5 separate regions of the Homo sapiens genome follow, and all the other regions are linked to region 2. The links are contacts of gene promoters, found by promoter capture Hi-C in blood cells and fetal thymus (Javierre and others, 2016). All regions are on one chromosome and are shown on one strand. The core of a region is centred on a gene start or on the middle of the fragment in contact, and the rest is flanking DNA. Distances in the headings are between cores, read along the strand shown.

The links. Contacts are between HindIII fragments. The CHiCAGO score rates a contact against its expected background, and 5 or more counts as called.
Region 1: a fragment that was not itself captured here is called in contact with the fragment with the promoter of AADACL4 in region 2 in 16 of 17 cell types (naive CD4 T cells, non-activated CD4 T cells, naive CD8 T cells and 13 more); the score reaches 23.1 in naive CD4 T cells.
Region 3: a fragment that was not itself captured here is called in contact with the fragment with the promoter of AADACL4 in region 2 in 16 of 17 cell types (total CD8 T cells, M1 macrophages, M2 macrophages and 13 more); the score reaches 14.3 in total CD8 T cells.
Region 4: a contact is called between a fragment that was not itself captured here and the fragment with the promoter of AADACL4 in region 2, in 13 of 17 cell types (non-activated CD4 T cells, activated CD4 T cells, naive CD8 T cells and 10 more). The highest score is 12.2, in non-activated CD4 T cells.
Region 5: a fragment that was not itself captured here is called in contact with the fragment with the promoter of AADACL4 in region 2 in 16 of 17 cell types (naive CD4 T cells, activated CD4 T cells, non-activated CD4 T cells and 13 more); the score reaches 18.7 in naive CD4 T cells.

Annotation. Positions count from the first base shown.
Region 1 is chr1:12,334,941-12,337,640 of GRCh38, reverse strand. It overlaps VPS13D (vacuolar protein sorting 13 homolog D), which reads right to left. Exons shown (of 70, transcript NM_015378.4): 39 at 1,814-1,936. Among named protein-coding and RNA genes, the nearest start is that of VPS13D, 110 kb to the right of the region's middle. The HindIII fragment of the contact is 1,523 bases long and covers 499-2,021 here.
Region 2 is chr1:12,642,706-12,645,405 of GRCh38, reverse strand. It overlaps AADACL4 (arylacetamide deacetylase like 4), which reads right to left and starts at 1,321. Exons shown (of 4, transcript NM_001013630.2): 1 at 692-1,321. The coding sequence starts at 859. The HindIII fragment of the contact is 15,531 bases long and covers 1-2,700 here.
Region 3 is chr1:12,378,623-12,381,322 of GRCh38, reverse strand. VPS13D (vacuolar protein sorting 13 homolog D) reads right to left here. Exons shown (of 70, transcript NM_015378.4): 57 at 1,727-1,835. Among named protein-coding and RNA genes, the nearest start is that of SNORA59A, 130 kb to the left of the region's middle. The HindIII fragment of the contact is 2,389 bases long and covers 167-2,555 here.
Region 4 is chr1:12,360,331-12,363,030 of GRCh38, reverse strand. VPS13D (vacuolar protein sorting 13 homolog D) reads right to left here. Exons shown (of 70, transcript NM_015378.4): 51 at 181-311. All of the region lies in intron 1 of LOC124903845 (a long non-coding RNA gene), which reads left to right. Among named protein-coding and RNA genes, the nearest start is that of VPS13D, 130 kb to the right of the region's middle. The HindIII fragment of the contact is 2,176 bases long and covers 219-2,394 here.
Region 5 is chr1:12,289,158-12,291,857 of GRCh38, reverse strand. VPS13D (vacuolar protein sorting 13 homolog D) reads right to left here. Exons shown (of 70, transcript NM_015378.4): 23 at 734-860. Among named protein-coding and RNA genes, the nearest start is that of VPS13D, 60 kb to the right of the region's middle. The HindIII fragment of the contact is 1,700 bases long and covers 536-2,235 here.

The DNA of each region.
Region 1 (2,700 bases), core at 11-2,510, 310 kb after region 2:
AAATTCAATGAAGTGCCACACCGCCCAGGTTTACCTGCAAAATCTCAGCCCTGACTGAACAAAGCCAACAATTTTGTCAAAAGGAGGCTGGTATTTTCTTTCCCCTGATAAAGAAACAGTGAGAAAGCAGCAGGTCCCTTAGGCTAAATTTCATGTTAAGGGCTATTCCCAAGAGCTTGTTTTAAGGCCAGTCTGAATAAAAAGCATAACTTTTGTAGGAATATGACTTACTATTCTTGAATAAGACCTGAAAGTTTATGATTAGTTCAACAAGGTTGAACCCTACTCACTTTCAAAATAAATTCCCAATGATCATTTTAGTAGGCCTGCTAAAAGAATACAATCCTGGAATGTACTGTACTACCATCCAGGAATTTCCAATAAGAAAAGAGGTTTGGAAATTTATGCATATTCAAGTTATGTCTTATTAAAAAGATAGATTACACTTTTATAAGCCTAAGTAATCATAAAAATCTTTAAATAAATAAAAATCAAGCTTTAACTCAGCACCAGCATTTAATATAGATGAGGAAGCCTTTTAACTATAGAGAAAGAGAGAGGGACAAAAATTTTAAAAAGGAAGGAAGAAAGGGAGGCAGGGAGGGAAGAAGGAAAGAAGAAAGAGAGGGACAAGAAAATCTTTCATCAGAATCTTGCAGACCAGGCCTTGCTAGAGTTTGACTCTGAATTGAAGATGCCCCTGCATGAATAATGTTTTAGAAACACACTCTCTTGGACATATTACAAAGATTATTTAGAGTCTTCTGGGTAGACTATGTTACATTTTCTTGACACACAAATTGGGAAGGTTGGAGGAGGAGCTAAAATCAAAGCTGACAATATCTGAAAAGCCCTGGCTCCTAAGTAATGACCTTGAGACTCAGAAGCAACAGCCTGGGAAAACAGAGAACAAGCACAGCTGACATTTCTTTGTGTCTCTTTCTAGAAGTACAAGGCAGACAGAAAGTCCACTTATTCACCCTGAGGAGAGATGAACCAGTACAATTACTTCACACACTAAGAACACCCAATCTTCCCATGACACGTTTGCAGACCAGATGGAATATTTAAGTATTCATGAGCTATGTGAAGTCCAGCCAAGACTCCCCAAAGAAACCACATTGTAAGAGTTGGAGCTGAGTTGAATTTGGATGACAATGGCTTGTGGAACAACTAAGACCATGCAGTTGTCCATCACCATCTCCCCAGCTCTGAGGAAAACAGAGCTGGCGAGGCATTAAATAAGGAAAGAAAGCATCATCAATAGAGAGCAAGCTGACTCCTCTTTCTTCAAGAGGCAGGGCATTCAATTCTTTTATACTCTATGAACAGCACAGGGCTCCCTTTTTAACAACTTTTTCCACATGGGCTCCTGCTCGCCCTCTTTTCAAGAATATGTCCAAACCCTCTATCTCTAGATTTAGAAGACCATTTTAGATGCTTTTAAAAATCTGGCCAAAAAAATCCGATCAATTAGAAAACCAATGTTTTGCAGAGTAAAACACAAACCACAGCTGATCCTGATGCATTCTCAGGTGCACCAGTTCATATGCATTATTACCAGGATTTAGGAATTACGTGTTGCAGATCTTTTCTCCCCCGCAAAGGTGGAATTACAGCCCACATTTATAAGTTCAGTAGTTCATGCCAGAAAACTGTCTCCTGCAAAGACTAAAACAGAACTACAGAAGATAGTCAGAATTTCCTGTAGGTTTTTCCACGCAGAATGATGGTTCCATTTGAATTTCTCAGTGAAGCATTGCTTTGTAGGTCAAAAGTGATTTAGTTAAACACATGTAGTGAAAACTCTTACTTTGTCCAAAACATGGAGGATCCACCGAAGAGCCCATCCAGTCTTCTGATTTAGCTGACTCTATGTCCTTGTCATCTTTACAGTAATCTGCCATCCACGATTCCTTGGTACTTACATACTGGTCTAGAAAGAATCCCCCAGAGATATTAAGAGAACTAAAAAAGATGGAGGGTTCGAGTCAAATAATTTCAATTCAGCAAAACAAGCTTTTATTGAGTGTCTCATTACATGCCTGGCCTGTGCTAGATTCCGAGAAAGTCTATGCCCTGGAGAGCCTCACGCTCCACTGAAAGAGATTACCATGAATAGACAACCATCGCCACAAAACTCTATCATAATGTGAAAGACATTAAAGATGTGGATTCTCTTCAAACCAATCTATAGATTCAATAAAATCCCCATCAAAATACCCATAGGGCATTTTGTGGAATTTTAAAAGCTGAATCTAAAATTTATATGGAGGCCGGACGCGGTGGCTCACGCCTGTAATCTCAGCACTTCGGGAGGCTCAGGCAGGCGGATCACTTGAGTCCAGGAGTTTGAGGCCAGCCTGGCCCACATAGCAAAACCCCATCTCTACTAAAAATACAAAACTTATGTAGGCGTGGTGGCGTGCACCTGTAGTCCCAGCTACTCAGTAGGCTGAGGCAGGACAATCGCTTGAACCTAGGAGGTGGAGGTTGCAGTGAGCCGAGATCATGCCACTGCACTCCAGAGGCTGAAATTCAGCAGACAATTCTCCACAAGTAGTTTTACTTCTGTGAGAGAATTACAATGGGGATAGCAGGTTAACAAAAACAATTACAGTGCACCACACCTAGATGAAGATCTTTTATACTAATTAAGATGTTATACTTTTTGGAAGAAGAATTATTGGTTTCTGGTTT
Region 2 (2,700 bases), core at 72-2,571:
CCCAGTGATTGGCACTCGGTAAATGTTTGATGCTAAAGGAAGAAAGGAAGGGAGTTAGAGAGAGCAGGAGAGAGGAAGGAAGAACGGAACAAAAGGAGGGAAGGAAGGAAGGTAGGAAGGAAACAAGGAAGGAAGGGAGGGAGGGAGGGAGGGAGGGAGGAGGGAAGGAAGAAAGGAGATAGGGAGGAAGGAAGAAGGGAAAGAAGAAAGGAAGGAGGGAGGGAAGGAAGGAGATAGGAAGAGAGAGAATGAAGGAAGGAGGGAAGGAGGAAGGAAGGAGGGAGGGAGAGAAAGAAAGAAGGAAAAAGGAAGGAAAGGAGCGGAGAAGGAGGGAAGGAAGGAAGGGAGGGAGGGAATGAAGGAGATAGGGAGGAAGGGAGAGAATGAGGGAAGGAGGAAGGAGAGGGAAGGAGGGAAGGAAAGAAGGAAAAAAGAAAGGAAAGGAGGGAGAGAAGGAGGGAAGGAAGGGAGGGAGAGAGGAAGAAAGGCAGGCAGGCTATGGGAAGGGGGAAGGAACGGAGGGAGGGAAGAGAGAGGCAAACAGAATAGCAGATACAGAAGAGACAAGTCTATCTTGAGGGAGTCCGAAGAGAGAGAGACAGAAGGGAAGTGAAAGAGGGAAAAGAGGGTAAGGTACTGAGAACAAGAGAAGAAGCCCCCAGGTTACGACGTGGCCTGAGAGTAAACTCACCAAAGTGACCAGGTAGAGGAATATGCAATGCAGGAATCTCAACTTGGCAGGATGCTGCAAGGTAGCAGGGATATCCGTGGTGAGGAAGTGCTCAAAGACAGCCCAGACAAAGACCCCCAGGAAAAAGATGGGCAATGCCAAGAGTAGCACTAGCCAGGGGACAGCCATGTTCCTGGGGCCTTGAGGAGCTGCTGCCCTGAGGAGCTTGTCTGATAGCTTATGTGAAGAGGACCTGGCTGGGTTACACCCTCCGCCTCCTCCACCTCACTCTCTCTGGGCTAAGCCTGACACCTGACACAGTGGCCTGACACAGCTTCTCAGGGTAAGCACAAAAAGGCCAATGGGAGGTGGAGGAACCTATTTCCCTAAGCAATGTGGGGACCCAGAAAAATCAATACTGCTCATCATGGGGAGTCTTGGAAGGTGAGCTTCCCAAAGATTTCAGGAAGATCAGGCTCAGATGGGCACCTCGGCTCCTGGGAACCCTAGAAAGAGATCTCATATGGGTTATATAGGCCTCCAGGGCCTGATCTTTCAACTGTAAGATAAGAGACTTCGCCAGCTTTCCTTGTCAGAGTGTGGTTAGGGTGAGCACAGCACGTCTCACCCCAGCTCCCTAGCTAGCTTCCCTAACCCCAGTTTTGTTTTGTTTTTTGAAACAAGGTCTCACTCTGTCACCGCCTATGTACCCTCTGGGCCTCTGGCCAGATCAGGGCAAAGACTGGCGTGTTTTCTGGTAGTCATAATCTTCTGGGGTCCTGGGACGGGAGACAGGAATGCCATTGCAGGCAAAACTGGGCTTTATCCAGCCTCATATTCCGCCTCTAAAAATGGTGCCAAGGGCTGGTTTGGGGACAATTTTTATCCACGTTACTTTCTTCTAAGAGAGAAAGAAATGATTGGAACCATTTCAGGAAATAGGCTTTGAGCCTGAAAATTTTAGAAATTTTAATTTGGGCCGAGCACGGTGGTAATCCCACCTGTAATCTCAGCACTTTGGGAGGCTGAGCTGGGAGGATCACTTGAGGCCAGGAGTTCAAGACCAGCCTGGCCAACAGGGTGAAACCCCCTCTCTACCAAAACTACAAAAATTAGCCGGGCATGGTGGCACATGCCTGTAATCCCAGCTACTCGGGAGGCTGAAGCTGGAGAATCGCTTGAACCTGGGAGCTGGAGGTTGCAGTGAGCCGAGATCGCACTACTGCACTCCAGCCTGGGCAACAGAACGAGACTCTGTCTCAAAAAAAAAAAAAAAAAAAAAAAAAAGGGAGAATATAGAAACTATACATATAAGAAAATACCACTACCCTTAGGGCTTAAATAGAGCACCCAAGAAAGACCCCGTTTCCACCCATAGGGATGAGACCCAGCTCTTGTTGGAAAGGGCATAGTGTGAATTTGCTGAACTGGCAAAGAAGTTGCTCAACTGCTACACCAGGGGGACTCACTGGTGTCTTCCTCTTGACACACACACTCAACAAATTTGCTGAAAATCTGCTCCCTTGGGTGCTAGGGAAAGCCATTTATTCACAGGGAGGTGTTTTACTGGAGGCACTCTGAAGTGAAACCACCCAAGGGGACTGGAAGGGAAAGTTATTAACCTCCGAGTGCTGCAGGAGCTTGGAACTAGAAGGCAGACCCCCTTTTTCATTCCTATTATTTATGTTTTAGGTTTTTGGTTTTTTGTTTGTTTGTTTGGTTTGTTTCAGAAAACAAAAGTTATAGAAGAGGCTTTACCCCAGTGAGTATATGCATGGCAGATTTTTGTGTTTTTACGTCATTGTATCTTTGTAAGAGTTTACTTAGGTTTCTCTTAGAGGGTTATAAGATTCACTATTCTGGCTAGGTGTAATTATCTTTTGTCGTTGTTGTTTGTTTGTTTGTTTTTTGTTTTTTTTTTTGAGATGGAGTCTCGCTCTGTCACCCAGGCTGGAGTGCAGTGGTGTGATCTCAGCTCACTGCAAGCTCCGCCTCCCAGGTTCACGCCATTCTCCTGCCTCAGCCTCCGG
Region 3 (2,700 bases), core at 112-2,611, 260 kb after region 2:
CAAACTTTGAGCAGGGTTTATAGTACAGGTTTCAACACAAAGAAAGCTTTTTATAGCTATTATAAGTTTAGAAAGAAAGAGCATATACAACCTAATAAGAGCAGTGTCAGAAAATGTTTTAATGTCTTCAATGACTTTATTCAGCATAATAAGATTGAAACAAGCTTACTTCCCTAACCAAAACACATTCTGCTCTGCTGAATACTGTTATTATACTGTCACTAACAAGCAGGGAAATGATGAAATAGATTCACAAAACAACAAACACCAAAAAAAGATTTTAAGGAAGAAAATGCTCCAAGAGCATTGGAATTACATGGGCTTTAGAAACAAACTAGAAGTGAAGTCAGGGTCAGACATGAAACCCACCAATTATAACAAGCCCTCTTTGCCTCTAGAAGTTTGAATTGTATTGCTAATTGAAAATCACAAATCCATTCCAGATGTGTGCTACATATAAGTAAGCAGCTTGTCTTTGATGAAAAAAGCTCAGGGCGATAGAGATAAAGAAAATAAATCTCACCAAAAGCAGTCAGAGGCTCCTTACAGTTTTTGCAAACTGCCCTGGAGTACAATCTAAGTACACTCAGAGTTCTCTATCAAGAGTCTGATAGTCTCCTGTTTCCCTTTTGTGTAAAATCCCAGGCTGGACAGAACTGCACACACAATTGCAGGTGCTAGTCTACTGCATGTCCAAACCTCCTAGACACCTTCCTACTTCTCAGACCCCTGTTCTCATTCCCAGCCTGAAGCCAGAAAGGGCAGAAAATCCAAACCCTTGGTAATTTGCCAAACACATATTTGCTTAGAAAGTAGCTGGGAGTTTATCATGAGGTAGACTGGCTGAGGAGGAAACTGTCCAGCAATCTTCATTCTGACATTTGCTACAGCAATTCAATGCTTATTTAGGCCAAAATGAACAGAATCAAGAGCATGTAGATGCCTGGCGAATGCTCACCATGTCATAGAACCCTTTACAGAGGACTTGCAGCTATGCCATTAACTTCCCAGGTCTAAATCTAATTCATCTAACTTAGTGCTGGACTTTTAAAATTACATAGGTAATTTTTTTCTTTTTAAAATTACATAGGTAATTTTTTTCTTTTTAAAATTACATTGGTAATATATGACATCAAAGAAAAAGTCCAGGTAAGCCATGAAAAACATATCTTATCATCCAGGGCAATCACTCTTAACACATGTATTGCATACCATCTCCAAGAACTTTTCCCATGTAAACATACACAAATGCGGGGCTGGGCGCGGTGGCTCACGCCTGTAATCCCAGCACTTTGGGAGGCCAAGGCGGGTGGATAACGAGGTTAGGAGATCGAGACCATCCTGGCTAACATGGTGAAACTCCATCTCTACTAAAAAATACAAAAAATTAGCCGGGCGTGGTGGCGGGCACCTGTAGTCCCAGCTACTCGGGAGGCTGAGGAAGGAGAATGGCGTGAACCCGGGAGGCGGAGCTTGCAGTGAGCCGAGATTGTGCCACTGCACTCCAGCCTGAGCGACAGAGCAAGACTCCACCTCAAAAAAAAAAAAAAATACACAAATGCACAACAAAACTCTGACTTCCTTTTAACTAAAATGGAATAGAATAAGTATTGCTCTGTAACTAGTTTTCCCACTGAACAATTCATCATGTATAACTTAGTAGAGACTTTGTTTCAAAGAAGGCTCAACCACTGCTTGCTGCAATTGGGGATCAAAAACGACTGACCTGGACGACCAACCCATGTAACCCACAGGTCAGTTTTCCTTCTCGGAAACTCCACGTCTGAGTTGTGCTTCGCCTGCGGTCAGGCTTTCTCAGCATCAGTGGCTCGTATCTGGAAAACGGAATACACAATGAACCATGAAACCTCCGAGTCAACTGTTTCACGCCTGAAGGGAACATGAGGATGATGGCTTTGCTCTTCTTCCTTCTAATGCCCTCCACCCTTAAAACTGAATGGGTAGTTAGCTTGAATCCTAGGGCAGTTAGGTATCTCTTGATAAGAAAAGAGGAATAAAGCAAAATGGAAAAACATGAAGAGGGGACACAAAGTAAGACATTAAAGATTTCATAACACACAGTAATATGGCTTCTTGCATTCTCAAAACGGCAACTTACCATGCAGTATGGAAGGAATAGCTGCTAAATACATGTAAAATCTTTCCAACAGTCTTTTTTCTGTTGTATTTCTAAATTCTTTTCTGTTCTAACTTGTAAGTCAACTAAAGTTTTTCTGGAAATAAGGTATTAACTGAAAACACACTGATTTTTATGGAGAAACTAAGGCACAGGCAAATCAAGTAACTTATTCAAACTTAAAGAGCTAATTTGAATCCAAGGATTTATTCATAAAAATACATCTGATTATTCTCTTAATAATTAATTTCTGCTTTTGAAGGATTTGACAAAGTTATTAGGAAGATGTAAAAAAGAAACTACTTCCTCAGAATAAGGACGGACTGGAATTTGGGTGGAAGAAATAATCACTTTTCACATTATACCCATTTTATTGTTTGAAGTTTCTTAACATCTGCATGGGTATTTCATCAAAGCTTAAAATATTTAAAGGGAAAGCCCAATACTCATATTTGGGAATATGACAGGTTTTTGTCATTGAAAAAAATATACATTTTTACTTTATTTATAGAACTCTTAGTTTTTGTTGTAGATTTCCTCTGAGTCTGAATTTGAAAGCAATG
Region 4 (2,700 bases), core at 57-2,556, 280 kb after region 2:
TCATGACAATAAGTGTTACTGAGTACCTACTCTGAGCCTTACCCTCTAACAGGAGCTATCTGGGTACCAAAGGCACAGAGCAGTTACTTGCATCACAGAACGTACAGTCTTCACAGAAGATGACATTAAAACTCGTGCTATTAAATAGGCACTCTCATCCTTCAAAAGCAAACTGCTCACCTGTCCCCTGGCAAATTCCCTCTGTGCAAATGCAAGCTTGTGAGATGATTTATTATCTAACAGGTAACGGGGGGCAAAGATGACCATGCAGGTATCAATGTATCGACCTCGGCCTTTCTTGACATCAATACCTACAAATAACAAGAACCACTTTTATGAGTTAACCATGAAGAGAGAAAACTCTTGGTCTGACAAAAATAAATAACCTTCACAGTTACTTAGTTTCTCTGAGAAAATAACTGTATCACCCAGAGGATATTGAACCTTCTAGGAATGTAATGAAAACAGCAATTGTACTCAAAGTATTATTACTCCTTATTCCCATTTAGGCCTTAAAAAGGTTCAGAGGCAAGATCAACATCCCCTTAATTCCTAGTTTCTTCACACAGTGTGTACCATTTAACAGCAACTAAAATACACAGGTGTCCAGTCACATATATGTTAGGTTTCCATTTATGAAGCTGAATACTTACAACAGTTTCACATGATACTTTTTGGCTTACACCTGGGACACAAAATTTCCTTCTAGAGAACCTGCCACTTTTACAGATACAGTGGAAATTTCAGATTACTTTCTTGGATTCTGTAATGTTCTAAACTTTACTGACTCTTCTCCAGTATTTTATTTTAGCCCATTGCCCAAGAATCCAGCTCAAACATAATGCTAAGTACTATAGAACTTATTCATGGCCGGGTGTGGTGGCTCATGCCTGTAATCCCAGCACTTTGGGAGGCCGAGATGGGTGGATCATTTGAGGTCAGGAGTTCAAGACCAGCCTGGCCAACATGGCGAAACCCCATCTCTACTAAAAATACAAAAATTAGCTGGGCATGGTGGCACGCACCTGTAGTCTCAGCTACTCGGGAGGCTGAGGCAAGAAAGAGAATTGCTTGAACTTGGGAGGCAGAGGTTGCAATGAGCCAAGATTGCACCATTACACTCTAGTCTGGGTGACAGTGTGAGACTCCGTCTCAAAAAATAAATAAATAAAAGAATTTATTCATCTATAAAATTACTGTTTTCAGCGCCTACTATGTATTAGGAAAAAATAAGAAAACAGTCCAAAGGAAATCTCAAGACAGCCGGTTCCAAATATAGAAAAGCACTGAAATATCTTAAAAACTCTGATAACAATTTTTAAAAATAAAAAATTCAGGCCGGGCGTGGTGGCTCACGCCTGTAATCCCAGCACTTTGGGAGGCCGAGGCGGGCGGATCACGAGGTCAGGAGATCGAGACCATCCCGGCTAAAACGGTGAAACCCCGTCTCTACTAAAAATACAAAAAATTAGCCGGGCGTAGTGGCGGGCGCCTGTAGTCCCAGCTACTTGGGAGGCTGAGGCAGGAGAATGGCGTGGACCCGGGAGGCGGAGCTTGCAGTGAGCCGAGATCCCGCCACTGCACTCCAGCCTGGGCGACAGAGCGAGACTCCGTCTCAAAAAAAAAATAAATAAATAAATAAATAAATAAATAAATAAAAATAAAAATAAAAAATTCAGTGGGATGAATTTATTCACTCATTCATTCAGACAATAAATACAGCAATGACATTCAACGTACTGGGCTGAGCTCTGGTCACCCATTGATAAAAATATTTATCATAGAAATAATAAAAATAACAACAACAACAACAATAATAATAATTACTGGTCTCTTAATACATGCTAGGTCCTCCCCCAAAGGCTTTACACTGAATCCCCATAACAACCTTCTAAGTTAGATATTTTAATTATTTCCATTTTATAGATGAGGAAACGAAGGCATGGAAAGCTAAGTAACTGACTCTATGTCACGCAGCTAGTATGTGCCATAACTGGGATTCAAGTCCAGGCAGTCAGCCTCCGGAGCAGCACCCTCATCAGGCTTGCTTGTATTGTGATGCGACATATACAAGGACTGCACTCCATTCAGCAGTCATCAAGTATCAAGAGAACCATTAAAATAGAAAACTCCACCTTAGCATTTGACAACCGGCTGTCATAGATTTCTCAACACAATCCCAATTATAAATATTCCAATCTGTAAATGCCGTAATTCACTTAAACTGGCTTGAAAATGCTGATGTTCCTTTAACACAAGCCTTGAAAATACCTGAAAGACTGAGAAAAGTCACACACAAAAATCTCTCTAAAACTCTGTATCTAAGAAATGCTATGTAATATTGGGATATGGAACTATACCCTATCACTTCTTTCTGTGACATGCAGAGAAGCTTTCATTGTCAGAAATCAACATTATCATAGTTAGGTGATATCTAATAAAAAGTCTAACTACAAAAGATGTATCTAATTTAATATTATAAAAAGAGTCTAGGGTACTCTGAACAATACAGACACTCAATCTTTGGAAAAAGGTGGGCTTCTTTCCCCCTTCACATCTTATATTGCCCTGGGAAACCCCTGATAAATCAATAAGTTGATAAGATCAACAGGCACAAAATCGTTCTTTTTGGAGATCCATGTGAGGCTACCTGGCAAGCCTGTCCCTGGCTTTTCAGTTTGGACTATGCTTTAAACTTTC
Region 5 (2,700 bases), core at 136-2,635, 350 kb after region 2:
TCAACAACCTTCTGAGGCTGAAATCATTCCAGAACTTTTAGAGCTACATGGAAGCTCAGAAATGTTCTAATGATTCAGTCCCCTTAATATATAGAAAAACTGATGCACGAAGACTGCATGACTTGTCTCAGGACATACACCAAGTTCGTGGAAAACCAGCAAGAGAGCCCAGGGCTTTTAATAATCAGAAATATTCAATCATACCCTATCTGGGGTGGGTGTGCGTGTGTGTGTTGAGACAAGGCCCCCCTCCATCACCCAGGCTGGAGTGCAGTAGCACAGTCATGGCTCACTGCAGCCTCCAACTCCTGGGATTAAGGGATCCTCCCACCTCAGCCTCTCAAGTAGCTAGAACTACAGTTGCATACCACCACACACAGACGGCTTTTTTCTTCTATAGAGACAGTGTCTATGTTGCCAAGGGTGGTCTCGAACTCCTGGCTTTAAGCAATCCATCTGCCTTGGCCTCCCAAAGAGCTTAGATTACAGGCATGACCCACCGCACCTAACTCATACCCCATCTGTTTATGAAGCTTTAAGTAGCCCACTTCAACACAGATCCATTTTAATGAAATTTAAAGTCAGGAAGAACTCCTCATAACCATAACTTCTCAATTTCACCTCTAAGAAGGTAAAAATTTTTAAAAGTTTTCTTTATTGTCTAGCCAACAAGAATCTGAAACAGCAAGTATTATGATAAAATATCAAGTCAGAAAAAGATTGACATTTTTACTTAAAAGTCTGGAAGATGAGTGCTTCTTCACCACTGGTAGTGAACCGTTCTCTGTAGAACTCTCCATGGCATGTGAGGTCACTTAGAGACAGACTCCCAATGCTGCCCTGTAAGGCCAGGTCTCCCTCTAGGGATGATAAAGTTAGAACACATTACTATGTATCCTTTTTTGTCACACAACTTAAATATGTCTGGAACAAAAGCTGGTATACACATGCCTCAGACTTTTCACTTTGTAATCAAACCTCAAAAGCAAATTTTCATATTCCAATATACCCCAAAAAATATTTTATGCAATATTTAAAACAAAGTCTCAATGCAAAAAAGGAAAAAAAAAGTCTCAATGCAGAAGTCCAAAGGGGACTGAAATAATACAGCAACATTACATTTTTTTTTTTTTTTTAGACAGAGTCTAGCTCTGTCGCCCAGGCTGGAGTACAGTGGCGCGATCTGGGGTCACTGCAAGTTCTGCCTCCCGGGTTCACGCCATTCTCCTGCCTCAGCCCCGCCGAGTAGCTGGGACTACAGGTGCCCACCACCATGCCTGACTAATTTTCTGTATTTTTAGTAGAGACGGGGTTTCACCGTGTTAGCCAGGATGGTCTCGATCTCCTGACCTCATGATCCGCCCGCCTTGGCCTCCCAAAATGCTAGGATTACAGGTGTGAGCCACCGCGCCCGGCAACATTACATATTTAAAGGATAAAACCTTTATAAATACAGACAGAAACTTGATGCTTTCTGAGATGAGACCACTAACTAGAAATAAACATCATTAGGTCTATTAATTATACTCTGGATAAAAGAATAAAGGAGGACGTGTCAGAAACATGTTAGGTATTCAAGCAACATTAAGCATGTTTTAGTATGATTTAATGAAAGACCAAAATTAATGAGGTAGATAGGCACTGGAGACACAGATTTGAAACTACTCTGATATATGAGTGAAGTTTCTGGAAGGTGGAAAGAAGAAAGAAGACGTGACTGAAACATGTACGACTAGAATGTGAATCTATAATGAGTCATTATTAACACTGTATGGATACTAAAAAGGAATATTCTGAACCGTTGCCTCTGTAAAACAAAATTTATTATCATAATTATCGTGATAAAACAATTACTAAGGTATATTTGGCATGCTAGTTCAGCTCCCAATGAATTGAAAACACAATTTTTTTTTTTATTTTTTGAGACAGGGTCTCACTCTGTCGCCCAGGCTACAGTGCAGTGGCACAATCATGGCTCACTGCAGCCTTGACCTTCCAGGCTCAAGCAATCCAACCACCTCAGCCTCCTGAGTCGCTGGGACTACAGGCACTGGCCATCACAACTGGTTAATTTTTACTATTTTTGTAGAGATGAGGTCTCACTATGTTGCCCAGGCTTGTCTCAAACTCCTGACCTCAGCCTCCCAAAGTGCTAGGATTACAGGCGTGAGCCACCGTGCCCAGCCACATACTTATTTTAGATACCTAATGTCTTCTAACAAAAATAACCAAGCTTTTACCAATCTTAAAGGCCATTAACAGGAATACGCTGTAAGAAGGAAAAAAAAAAAAAAGCCAATCTCCTCTAAGAAGCTTTTCTAAAATAATTGCACAAGGCATGAAACCTCAGCCTCAGTTCATTCCTTCCCCAAAAGACATTCTTGTTTTTACTACAGCATCAACATGAGCTTTGTAATCTTTGATAATTAGGAAAGGAAAAATGTTTTACTTCACATTTCATAAATCTCTACTAAAGGCTGGGTACGGTGGCTCACGCCTGTAATCCCAGCACTTTGGGAGGCCAAAGTGGATGGATGGTTTGAGTCCAGGAGTTTGAAACCAGTCTGGCCAACATGGCGAAACCCTGTCTCTATAGTTTAAAAAAATAAGTTAAAATATTATTTTTTTAAAATCCTACTATTTAGAACCTGATGTAGTTGATCACTTGTATTCAACTAAGAATTTTAACTTACAAAGTCC